Linked DNA regions of Homo sapiens: region 2 is linked to region 1. Evidence: promoter capture Hi-C in human tissues and cell types (Jung and others, 2019). All regions are on one chromosome and are shown on one strand. Each heading gives the region's core, a stretch centred on a gene start or on the middle of the fragment in contact. The rest is flanking DNA. Distances are from core to core; before and after follow the strand shown. Region 1 holds the start of GLB1L3 (galactosidase beta 1 like 3). Region 2 holds the start of LINC02697 (long intergenic non-protein coding RNA 2697).

The links. The method cuts DNA at HindIII sites, captures the fragments that hold promoters and counts their contacts. A contact is called where the count stands out against the background at its distance.
Region 2: a contact is called between a fragment that was not itself captured here and the fragment with the promoter of GLB1L3 in region 1, in 1 of the 25 tissues and cell types used here (H1 embryonic stem cells).

The regions. Positions count from the first base shown.
Region 1 is chr11:134,272,076-134,277,921 of GRCh38, forward strand. GLB1L3 (galactosidase beta 1 like 3) reads left to right here and starts at 4,304. Exons shown (of 20, transcript NM_001080407.3): 1 at 4,304-4,688; 2 at 5,251-5,376; 3 at 5,625-5,837. The coding sequence starts at 4,666. RefSeq lists enhancers at 767-1,322, 3,463-3,572, 3,633-3,762, 3,913-3,962 and a silencer at 4,413-4,482. The HindIII fragment of the contact is 8,641 bases long and covers 1-5,846 here.
Region 2 is chr11:134,947,113-134,952,425 of GRCh38, forward strand. LINC02697 (long intergenic non-protein coding RNA 2697) reads left to right here and starts at 3,877. Exons shown (of 2, transcript NR_187396.1): 1 at 3,877-4,185. RefSeq lists enhancers at 194-694, 695-1,195, 1,748-2,947. The HindIII fragment of the contact is 3,649 bases long and covers 903-4,551 here.

The DNA.
Region 1 (5,846 bases), core at 3,054-5,553:
ATACAAAAGAATAAAATTGGCCAGGCGTGGTAGCTTATCCTTGTAATCCCAGTACTTTGAGAGATTGAGGAGGCAGGTCACTTGAGCCCAGGAGTTGGAGACCAACCTGGGCAACACTGTGAGACCCCATCTCTACAAAAAATACAAAAATTAGCCTGGCATGATGGTGTGCACCTCTGGTCTCCCAAAGCGCTGGGATTACAGGTGTGAGCCACCACGCCCAGCCGAAAAAACAGAAGAATTTTTAAGCCTTCTAATATTTGGATATAGTTTTCCATGTTCCCATAGTTTATTTTATAGACCTGATGGTTTAGAAGCATTTCACTTTCCGCTTTGCTAGCCACGTGGTTATACTTTAATTTTAAGTGCATTTGTGTGCTTTTCCTGAAGCATTTTCACCTAGGCCATCTCACTTAGTTTGAACAAGAGCAGTGCTTCGCACGCGGCTGCTTGCTGAGCAGAGTCCAGCGAACCGAATTGGGCAATATGAGACTGAATCTTTCCATTCCAGGGCCTTCAGATCCCAGCTGTCAACAGCCTGCTGTGTGACGTCACTGAAAGCCTCTGTGCTCTAGTTTCCTCACTGATAAAGGAGGGATACTAATGGTACCCGCTTTCTGGTGCTGTGAGAGTTAAGAGACAATAGACAGAAATGTCAAACATGCAGAACTGTGCCTGGCACACGAGTGCTTGGTAAATGTCAGCTATTCATAACAGAGGAAAAAACCTGATGAAAATAAATCACTTTTGGATAAGGATTTTAATATTCTTACAGACACTCCCCATCCAGCTCTTAGCTCAATGGATCAGGTTATCTGCAAGGACAGCAGCCTCTTGCTGGGTGCCCCATGGAGACAGCGATCTTCCCTCCTCTCTTACCTTCTCAAGGGTGGCCCTTTTCCATCACCAAGGCTGCACTCATGCAGAGAGGAAGCCTTCCCCCCCGACCTGATCAGGCTGATTAACTTCAACTCCCAGGGGAGAAGACTCTTGAGAACACACTTTAACCTTGGGTTCTCACCTGGAGCTCCGCATGATTTTCCATTTCCTTAACTAATGAATGCATCTAGCAGACTCAGTCCATAAAAAAGGCACATTTGAATGATAACAGCCAGAGCCCGGTGGCCGAGCTGGGCTGCCGCCTGCTGAGCAGCTCCTTTAGAAAGGCCTGCACTTGAGCGTTAGTTACCCTGTGGAGGGACAGGAGGCCGGCTGCTTCACTTCCCTCTGCTGGGAGTGGCCCTGCGTGATGGGGTGCATATCCACTTCATTTATTTTTTAATCTGTGGGAGACAGGTTATCAATTTACTTAAAGTTTGAATGTCTGTAAGGATGAAATTTAAAGCTAGGGCTCTGAAGATCTCTAGCAGGGATGTATCTGTCATCTACCTATCCCTCCATCTCAGCCTGTGAACTGCGTGTCATCATGGGTTAAATTAATTACTAAGAGACCACGGAGTCCATTTTATAGCTCAAATGAGCATTTTTCATTTCCTGTAGTAAACATGACTTAAGTAAACAAAGAGTTTCTCTAACAAGGATGGCTTACAAGTAGAAGTGGCTAAATTTTCACTTTTATAAATTTTGCTGCTTTTTATTAACTATCAATAAACCTAGAAAGATGATCTTACAAGTAAACAACAGATTTTGCATACTTTAACCTTAAAGATATCTCTGCCTCAACTCTTTGTTCACAGCTCTCTGACACTGGAATATTAATAGTTGATAATCTTTCCCTTTAATTTTTCACTGATAATATTAGTTCCTAACCCAGGTTTTTGGATCTCACAAGGGTTCTTATTATACAGTTGTCACATACATTTCTTTAAGAAGTTCAACCTAAGAAGAAATCAAGAATTGTCTTTTCTGGTTCATACATTAACTCCTATAGGGTTGTCCACTACTAAAGCAACAGAAAGTGCTGCCTTCTTTTTCTGGAAGCTGCTGTTCTTACAAGAGAGCAATTTAGGAGCAGGAATTGTGCTTTATTAACATCAAAGCACTGGCACAGGAAGTTTGCACACTCAGCTCTGGGAGCTTTTTGATGCTTTCTGCCTGCTTTGGGAAATTAGCTCTTTGTTTCATTATCAGTTATCTGGATGGAAACTGAAGGGAAAAATATTGATTTTTTTTTTTTTTTTTAATAAATTGTACCAGGATGCTGGGTCTGCGGCCCTAGTGGCTGGTCTTTCCTGTGCTTGGGATGTTGGCCTTGTAGAGTTACTTCTGTAATCTCAAGACAGAAACTGACAGCTTTGTTTGATCAAAATTGTTACTTCACCTTGCACATTTTCAAGAGTTCTACAGGTTTAATGAGCACAGAAATCTGGGGGAACTTTCACTCTCCAGGGCTCCTTCATAGAGGTTCTCAAATACTCCATCAGCAGAGGGGAGCCCCAGATGGCAAAAGGACACAGGATATGTCATCTTTCAAATGAACCAATAATCCATTATTTGATTCTTCTACCTTTGTCAAAATTCCTCCAGCAACGCCTGCAGAAAATCACAATTCTTGATACATAGCTTGTTCCAATAAAGCACCACAGCATTTCTAGTGACTGCAGGCCCAGCTGTCAAACTCTTTCAACTTGATAGAGAATATGTACACAAAACCTATAGCTGTCATCATACTTAATAGTGAAAAACAGAATGTTTTCCAGCTGACACTGGGGACAAGGTAACAGTGTCAGTTCCTGCCGCTCTTATTCAACACAGAAATTTTAGTCATCATACTAAGACACACAAAAAAAGGAATAAAAAGCCACGCAGACTGGAAAGGTAGAAATAAAACTCTCCATATTTGCAGATGACATGATTATCTACATGGAAAATGCCAAGTAATACACAAATAACCTCTTAAAATTAATAGGTGAGTTTGCCAAGGTCACAGGATATGAGATCAACATGAGAAACACAATCACATTTCTGTATGCTAACAACAAACATGTAAAAACTGAAATAAAAATAATAACAGTTTAAATCTCTTGAGAGCAAAGGAAATATTTAAGTATAAACCTAACAAAACGTGATAGGATCTGATGTTGAAAAAATCACACAATTCTGATGAAAGAAGTGAAAAAAAAAAAACTATTTAAATAGACAGACATACCATGTTCGTGGGTTGGAAGATTCAACATAATAAGGATACAATTCTCAATTTGATCCATAGGTTGATTGCAATTCCTCTCGAAATACCAACATGGCTTTTTGTAGAAACAGACAAGTTTATTCTAAATTTTATGTGGGAAGGCACAAGCCCTAGAATACTTTAAACTTGACAAAGAAGAATAAAGTGTGTGGCTGTAAAACCAAACTGTAAAAAATTAACAGTTCATTGCTTGCAGTCGAAAAAATGAGGAAAAGATGGACGATCTAGGAAACTTTCAGGGAGCTAAGGTGTCGGAGAGCAAAGTATCCTTGTAAGGAATGAGACAAGATAAACTCCCTCCCCCACACACAGTATTTTCAGAGAACTACATTCTTGGTTTCAACCTGATGTCATAGGCTGTGTTCTTTGCAACGGAAGAAGCAAAGACTTCAAAGGGAGAAATCGGAAGATTTCTTTTTTCATCGTAGGGACTTCACATCAGCGTTTCCAAAACCGAGTCCATCGCCTTTTCCCTCTGCGCAGCCTCTATCCCTTCCTGTGTTTCGCATCTCAATAAACGTCCCCGCCAAGTGACTTCAGCCTGAAACATGCGGCCTCCCGGACTCCTCTCTGTGTCACCGACCTCTTGCGCTCAGTTCTCCGGAGCTGCCGGTTTAACCTCGCAAGTCTTCCCGGAACCCGTGCCCTCCTCCTGGGCAGCGTTACCACCACGAGCGCCTACCTGAGAGGACGCCTGTTCTCATCCAGCCTCCACCCTGCAGCCGAGCAATCTCCGTAAAACGAACACCTGGCTTAGTTTCTGCTGGAAACCGTTGAATAGTCCCCACTGTCTTCTGGAAGGGTCTGGGCAGCTCGGCGTGGCGTCCACGGCCCCACCAGGCCTCTGCCTCCTGCAGGTCCCGCTACTTCGTCACCAAAGCGCCCGCCGCGCTCGCATCTGCTGTGAGGCTGTGCTCGGGCCGCTCCCGCCGAGGGAACGGCCCTCCCAAGGCTCTGCGCCCCAATTCTCGCTCGTTTGCCAAGAGGTAGCCGTGTCGGGGAGCTAGAGTTCTCCGGGGACTCTCTCCTGCCCCTCGTGGCCCTCTGTGGAACCCTCGTTTTAGGATCTGCACGCCGTTTCCAGTCGCGCGCGCGGCACGGAGACCGCCCGCTGTGCCCCGCGCTGCGCTCTCTCCGCCCCTCTCCCGCGCAGGCCTCCCTGTGCCAGCCGGCTGTCGACCCAGGTTAGGAAGCCCGAGGTCGGGGCGTTACCCCAAGGGCCCTCCCGCTTCCCCTCCGAGGGCAGAGAGGCGTCCGCGCCCGGACGCACTGCGGGAACACCTGGAGCGCCGGCGGAGCTCGGCTGTCCCCGCGGGAGGGAGCCCGACGCGCATCCTTGGGACCCGGACCCGGCGCCCGCGCCTCGGGACGGATTTCTGCCTCGGCTGCAGGCGCAGCGCGCAGACCTGAGCCTGCCCCGCGGAACCGGGGCTCGAGTCCCGGCCCGAGCGCGGCGTCGGGGCCAGCGGAGAGGGGCGGAAGCCGCAAGGGACCCTCGGCGCCTCGGCCTGGCCGCGATGAAGTCCCCGCCCCTCCTCAGGTGACGGATCGCCGCTGCCGTCCCGGGCTGCCCACCACCCCGGCGCGTGCCCGGGAGCCTCCACCCTCCCCGGGTTCTGTGGCCGGCCACGCGCCCCAGGCACGCGCCGCGCCGGGCCGCGCCACCAAGCCCGCTGTCCCCAGCTTTCCTCGGCAGATCCCCTGGCTACCCCCACCCTGCGGAGGGGCCGTTCACCAGATGCCAGAAAATCAGGGTGGGGCACGCAGGCCAGGGGCTCCAGCGGCTGGGCACCGTGTCCTTCCCGAACCTGGTGCTGGAAGTGCGCCCGCCTCCGCCTCTCCCAGGCACCCACCGGCACTGCCCAGCCCTGTCTGGAGGGTCTAGGACTGAACGTCTGTCCCCGGCCTTCATCCTGGCTGCAGAGGACTGGCCGGGTGATGCCGCGCTGTCCTGGCCCTGGGCCCGCCTGGAAGACCCGCCTGTGTCGCGGGCCCCCTCCCTGGCTCTGGCCTCTAAAGCGCCCCCGGCACAGCTTCCCGGCCCTTGCAGCCCGGTGGGGCCGGAACCTTCCCCTTGTCACTGTTGTCCTTTCTCCTTTCAGCCCGTGTCTCTCCTGGAAGAGAATGGCGGGCATCTTTTTCCTGCCATTTATCTCATCAGGTTTTGCTCCTCGGTTTAAGCAGGAAGAGAACTTCATGCTTGGAAGAGCGCATCCGTCCCAGCCTAGGTTTGCTTGAGAGCTACATCCCTGGGGAGGGAGGGGAGCGATCTCTCCTTTCTTGGAGAAAATAGTATCGCGAATATGCACAGAACACGTCCTACTAACATATGCACAGAACACGTCCTACTAACATATGCACAGAACACGTCCTACTAACAAAAACTTCTTTTCGCTAGGGTTTCAGCCGTGCCTCCGAGCCCTCTCCCGAATCCTCTCTCCCTTTCCACTTTCTTTCCCTCGCCCGCCCCCTCCAGGTTTAATTGGTCTCATCTGACCCCTCTGGAGCTGAAGAATCGATCTGTGGGACTTGGAACTGAAAGCACAGGTCGGGGTAAGCCCCACTTCACACTGGAGGGCCACAAGTTCCTGATCTTCGGGGGCTCCATCCACTATTTCCGGGTGCCCAGGGAGTACTGGAGGGACCGCCTGCTGAAGCTGAAGGCCTGTGGCTTCAATACTGTCACCACGTGAGTGCC
Region 2 (5,313 bases), core at 1,477-3,976, 670 kb after region 1:
GAATATACAAGCAGGGTGTGAGGAGAGGAAAGCAAGCAGGCCCTGCACTGTGCTGTACCCACCCCAGTCCCTCATGTCTTCACTGGAGGTTCAGACCCTGCCTGGGTCCAGCCTGGGTTTCCCTCCTCCTCCGCAGGGAGGAGCCGCTCTATTCCCACCTTCCCACTCTGTCCACTGTTCTGCAGATCTGCCTGACCTCAGGTAGACCAGAGTTTTCATTGCATTAAAATATTTTCTCCACCACAAAAGCAATATATAGTCATTATGCAAAATATGTGATTCACAGATAAACAAAAGGAAAAATGCAAATTAACTATAATCCCACCATTCAGAAAAATTTATTTTTAATACCTTGAGATGATCAGCATGCCTTTAAGTTTCCCAGAATTAAATGTCTGTGGCCAAATCCTTTGGAGAAATCTACATGTGAAACTGGCTGCAGATCTTCCTCATTCCAAAACTCACTTGAACACAGAATCTTCATGTAGTAGTTTTTAATAAAACGTGTATTCTGTGAGACGGGTTTTGAGAAATCCTAGTGTAATCCCTGCTTGTTCCTGGCAGCTGCCCCCAGTGCCGTCTCTGTCAGGCTGGTGGCCTGTCTGTCCCTGCGGAGGAGAGAACAGGACCTTGCACTGCTGTGACCGCCAGTTCCCAGGCCCCGTGGGATGAGCCGTGTCCTCACGGCAAGCCTGCCCTGCCTGACCTCTGGGTCTGTCTCGTGGCTATTGTCTCTTTATTTTTCAGCTACCTCTTGTCTTCATAACATGAATGTCCTTGCCAGCATATGGGCACAGTTTGATTAGGGGAGAATTATCACCCGTTTAATGCAATATACAACCAGTGTGAGATGCAGAGACACCGAGTCTTGTGTAAATTATCTTACAAATCTGAGGCCAGGCACGGTGGTTCAAGCCTGTAATCCCAGCACTTTGGGAGGCTGAGGCGGGAGGATCACCCGAGGTCAGGAGTTGGAGACCAGCCCAGCCAATATGGTGAAACCCCGTCTCTACTAAAAATACAAAGATTAGCTGGGCATGGTGGCAGGCACCTGTAATCCTAGCTACTCAGGAGGCTGAGGCAGGAGAATCATTTGAACCTGGGAGGTGGAGGTTGTATTGAGCTGAGATCGTGCCACTGCACTCCAGCCTGGGTGACAGAGTGAGTCTCTATCCCAAAAAAAAAAATTAAATAAATAAATAATAATTTTACAAATCTGAGATATGCGCCTGAAAGACACATCTTAGATTTCTCGCCAACTCATTGATCAAGTCACCTATCCACAGAATAACTGAGTCAGTCTGCTGTCTTCACCCAGGAAAGTGATCAGGTCTTTATAGCTCAAGGCTGGGTTTGCTTGTAGGAAATCCCTGTGTGGGCTGCAAGATTCAAGATGCATTGGGGATTTCTCCCTCAAAAATATCTTCTCCATGGATGCCCCAGGGAGCTCTCATGGAAGCTATCAGAGTGGTCTTTGTCCAGGAGATGCAGTCATCCTCATGGAAGCTATCAGAGTGGTCTTTGGCCAAGAGATGCAGTCATCCTCATCGAAGCTATCAGAGTTGTCTTTGGCCAGGAGATGCAGTCATCCTCATGGAAGCTATCTGAGTGGTCTTTTGGCTGGGAGATGCAGTCATCCACAGATCTCTTCTTGTTTTAGCCACCTCTCTCTCCTCCATGGGCTCTCTAAGGAAAATACATGCATAGGCTAAACTGGCAAAGGAAAGCAAAGTAACGCTTTATTATTAATTGGGACTTTGGTTCCAAGCCTCCAAACAGAATTCCATTAAACTATGTTGGACTCAATAGGTAATTCTTCATGAGAATTTATGAGAATATGCATAAGGCAGCTCAGAGCTTAGAACCAAGTGCTGGGCAGTATATTCCTTTTTATGCACTCACAACCAGACCTTAAGCTTGACTCCATCAACCAGGCCAGAGAATTCCTACAATAGCAGGAGGAAATGGAGTCACAGCACAAGGGACCCTGTTTGTCTGCAGTGCTCAGCACAAAACCAGCCAAGCCTGGTTGCTGTATTAGGAAGAGAGAACTTTCCGAGAGAAAGCCTGTCTGGCCCTTGGCACTTCCCGCTGCAGTCACTGGAGAGGTAAGAGAGAAAAGGGGCCACTCTGTCATGTGTTTTCTCTGAAAACAAACCCAGGACACTATGACTAAGCATTGACCAAGAGCTTGGAATTTCCTGTCCTTGATGCCACAAGCAATCCCAAACTTGGCAATGTAAAATAGCAACTGTTTTGTAGTGCTCTTGGGTTCTGCAATCCAGGGATCTGAGAACAGCATTGTAGGGTGGTTTATCTCTGCTCCACACTGTCTGCATCCTCAGCTTGGAAGACCGGGAGGCTGGAGGCAGCTTGGCAGCTGGGGTCTGAACCCCCCTGCAGGCACACTTCTTCACATGGCAGTTGATGCTGGCTGCTGGCTGGGACCTCTGCTGGGCTGCCAGCCAGAATATCTGTTTGTGGCTTCTCCATGTGGCTGTTTGGGGTTCTTCAAATTTCTTCTAAGAGTGAACATCCCAAGAGAACCAGGCTGAAGCCATATCACCTTTCGCATGCTAGCCTTGGGAGTAAAATCATGTCCTTCTCATTGTACTCCATTAATCAGGGCAGTCGCAAAGATCCAGCCAGACTGAATGAGAGGGGACAGACATCATCATTCCACGGCTGGTACGTTAAGCTTACATTGTAAGAAAAGCATGTGGGATGTGCAGTGTTATTACTTGCCACCCAACTCACCCTCGATTAGTAATAAAGTGTCTATATGGGACACGTGGAAGCAAGGGGGAGAGAAATAAGAGTCCTAAGTTTCTCCCAGATACTGACTGATACTGGGAAACGTGCCTAAAACCCACTGCTGGAATCCTTCTCTGGATCAGAGCACGCAGCCTCAGAACAGTGAGTAATTAAGCTGTTATTGGCTGTTGGTGTCAATAGCCAATACTGACTACACACTTCATTGTCTATTGGTCATATTAGAAAGCAGACGGGACTGAAGATCTAGACGGATAAATTGTTCTTTGGTGAAGGGTTTTGGGACACGTTTCATCAATAGGTTCCTATCAGGCAAATGCTCCAGGAGGCTGGAGATGAAAACTGAACAAATAACTGAAAGAAAAGAATAAAGAAATGCCTTCTTTAAGCCTTGGCTCCTTCACAATTTGACCATGACCAGTCCTTCCCAGAAGTGAGAGTCAGCTGGGCAGGAGTTTTCCTCCATCAGTGGAGTCATTTTATCAACATCCAGCCTTAGAGCGCTTCTTTACGGAGGGAGAAACTCAAACACAAGGCAGGGGAGGTGACAAGTGTGTTCTCCAGGCCTGGGGTTTCAGGTGAGGGTGGAGGTGTGGGGCCAGGCAGGTGGTGGCTATCCCCTCTTCCCCATAAGGAAGATAACACGAACATGCAGGTTGATGCAGGGAGAGCAGAATTATGGGATGTTACATCTTACAGAAATATCAGTTATGTTTCTTTAATTGTCAGTGACAAAAAGATATTTTTTCTACAAATAAAAAAGGCCATATTTGGAATAATATGGAGCATCTTACAAAAGGAAAATTGTACCTGTACCTAATAAGCCATAGTAGCTCTGGGAACTGAATCTCGGGCACCAGGAACAGTCTCGCATGTCATTGTAATCTGGATTCATGAGCTCTGACTTTCCACAGTCTTTGAGTCACTGAGCACTAGGATCAACTTTCACAGAGGATCCAGATAATCAGCCAGCTTAAGTCACACTCCTACAGCTTGGCTAGGGTAGGGATTCCTCACCAACAGTCCCATAAGATCTTATCCAGTCAGGAGGGGCTGGCCCAATCTGAAGTGCAGCCGAGACCGGGAGCCACAGACCTGGAACCTGTGTACTCAAAGAGTTGTCCACATGCCAGCAGCACTGGCCCTTCCAGGAGCTGTTAGAAATGTAGAACCTCAGAGCCTACATTGAAGATATTGAATCGGAGTCTGCACATCGCTTCTGAGAAGCCATGAGCTAAGCTGATGCCATTCAGCTGGGTAGCATCGCAGTCACTGTGCAACTTTTAAACATACAGCTGCCCAGGCCCACTGCAGACCTGCTAAATTCAAGCTCCTTGTAGTGGGGCCAGGGCCCTGGGACTTCATACAAAACTCTGCAAGTCATCACTGATGAGAAAACCAAGACTCGATGAGGTAAAGCAACTTCCCCCACCACAAAACCTAGTCCTGTGTGAGGGAGCCAGGGGTATTTACATTTTCCTAATTTACATCCTTTTAAACTGCATTTTTCAGAGTCTCCTGAGCTCAGAGGAAGAAGCTGCATAACCAGCACACTTCCAGAGAGGACCGAGGAAGAGAGCGTTGCTTCAGCCAGGGTCTGATTAGTCATGCCTGGCAGGCTCTGCTGAGCTGGGTGCTCATGGGTTTTGCTTGCTGAGCTGAATTAATATATTAGTGGATTTCATGTTTGACTCGCTCTTTCTTTCTCACTGCGCAGGAGCTAAAGGAGTGGAGCTGGGGATGCCAATGTTTCTGTTTAGACAGCTGAAGGGGCCATGCGAGCCCACAGCGAGAGCTGCAGGAGCAGCTACTACAGGGAGTGGGCAGATTTTAGGGTGCGCAGATTTGTACTTGGTGTGGCTCGGTTGTACATTCAGGAATCTCTTTCCTTGTGATACGCAGAGCTGCACGTGGAAGATGTTAGGAACACAGCTGGGTGCAGTTTTGCTGGTTAGTTCTGAACAAACCTACAGACGTGAGATTTGAACTCTATAAGGGAAGAAAGCAAGGAGGAAGAAGGCACTGAGGCTGCCTGTCACCAGAAGGGTTCTGGGCAAAACGGGGTAGAGTGACTTGGGACAGTTCCTCCTAACGATAGCACAGGCAGTAGGGGTTGAGACACAGTGGGGTTGAGACTTGCTTAAATGTATAGTTATTCAGCCAGCCATTTTCATAGAATAATTGTGGGTTGCCCTGAGCTGCCGCGTTCACATGCTCTGCAGTGGAGTACTATATGCTAATGTGAGATGGGAGTACACCCAGATTTCACCCCCCTAGAACGTGGTTTTTTTTTTTTTAAAGTAAAACAATGCTATGGCCAGGTGTGGCCTGTTAGCTTTAAAAACAAATGGCCTCTGCTGAGGGACACTTGGGTTGTTTCCCTGTCTTGGCTACGGTGAGCAGTGCTGCAGTGGACATGGGAGGGCAGGCAGCTCTTCTACCCACTGACCTCCTTTCCTGTGGGTTTGTCCCCAGAAGTGGGACCTGCTGGATCATATCGAAGCTCTGGTTGTCATTTTCTGAGGAACCTTCAGGCTGTTT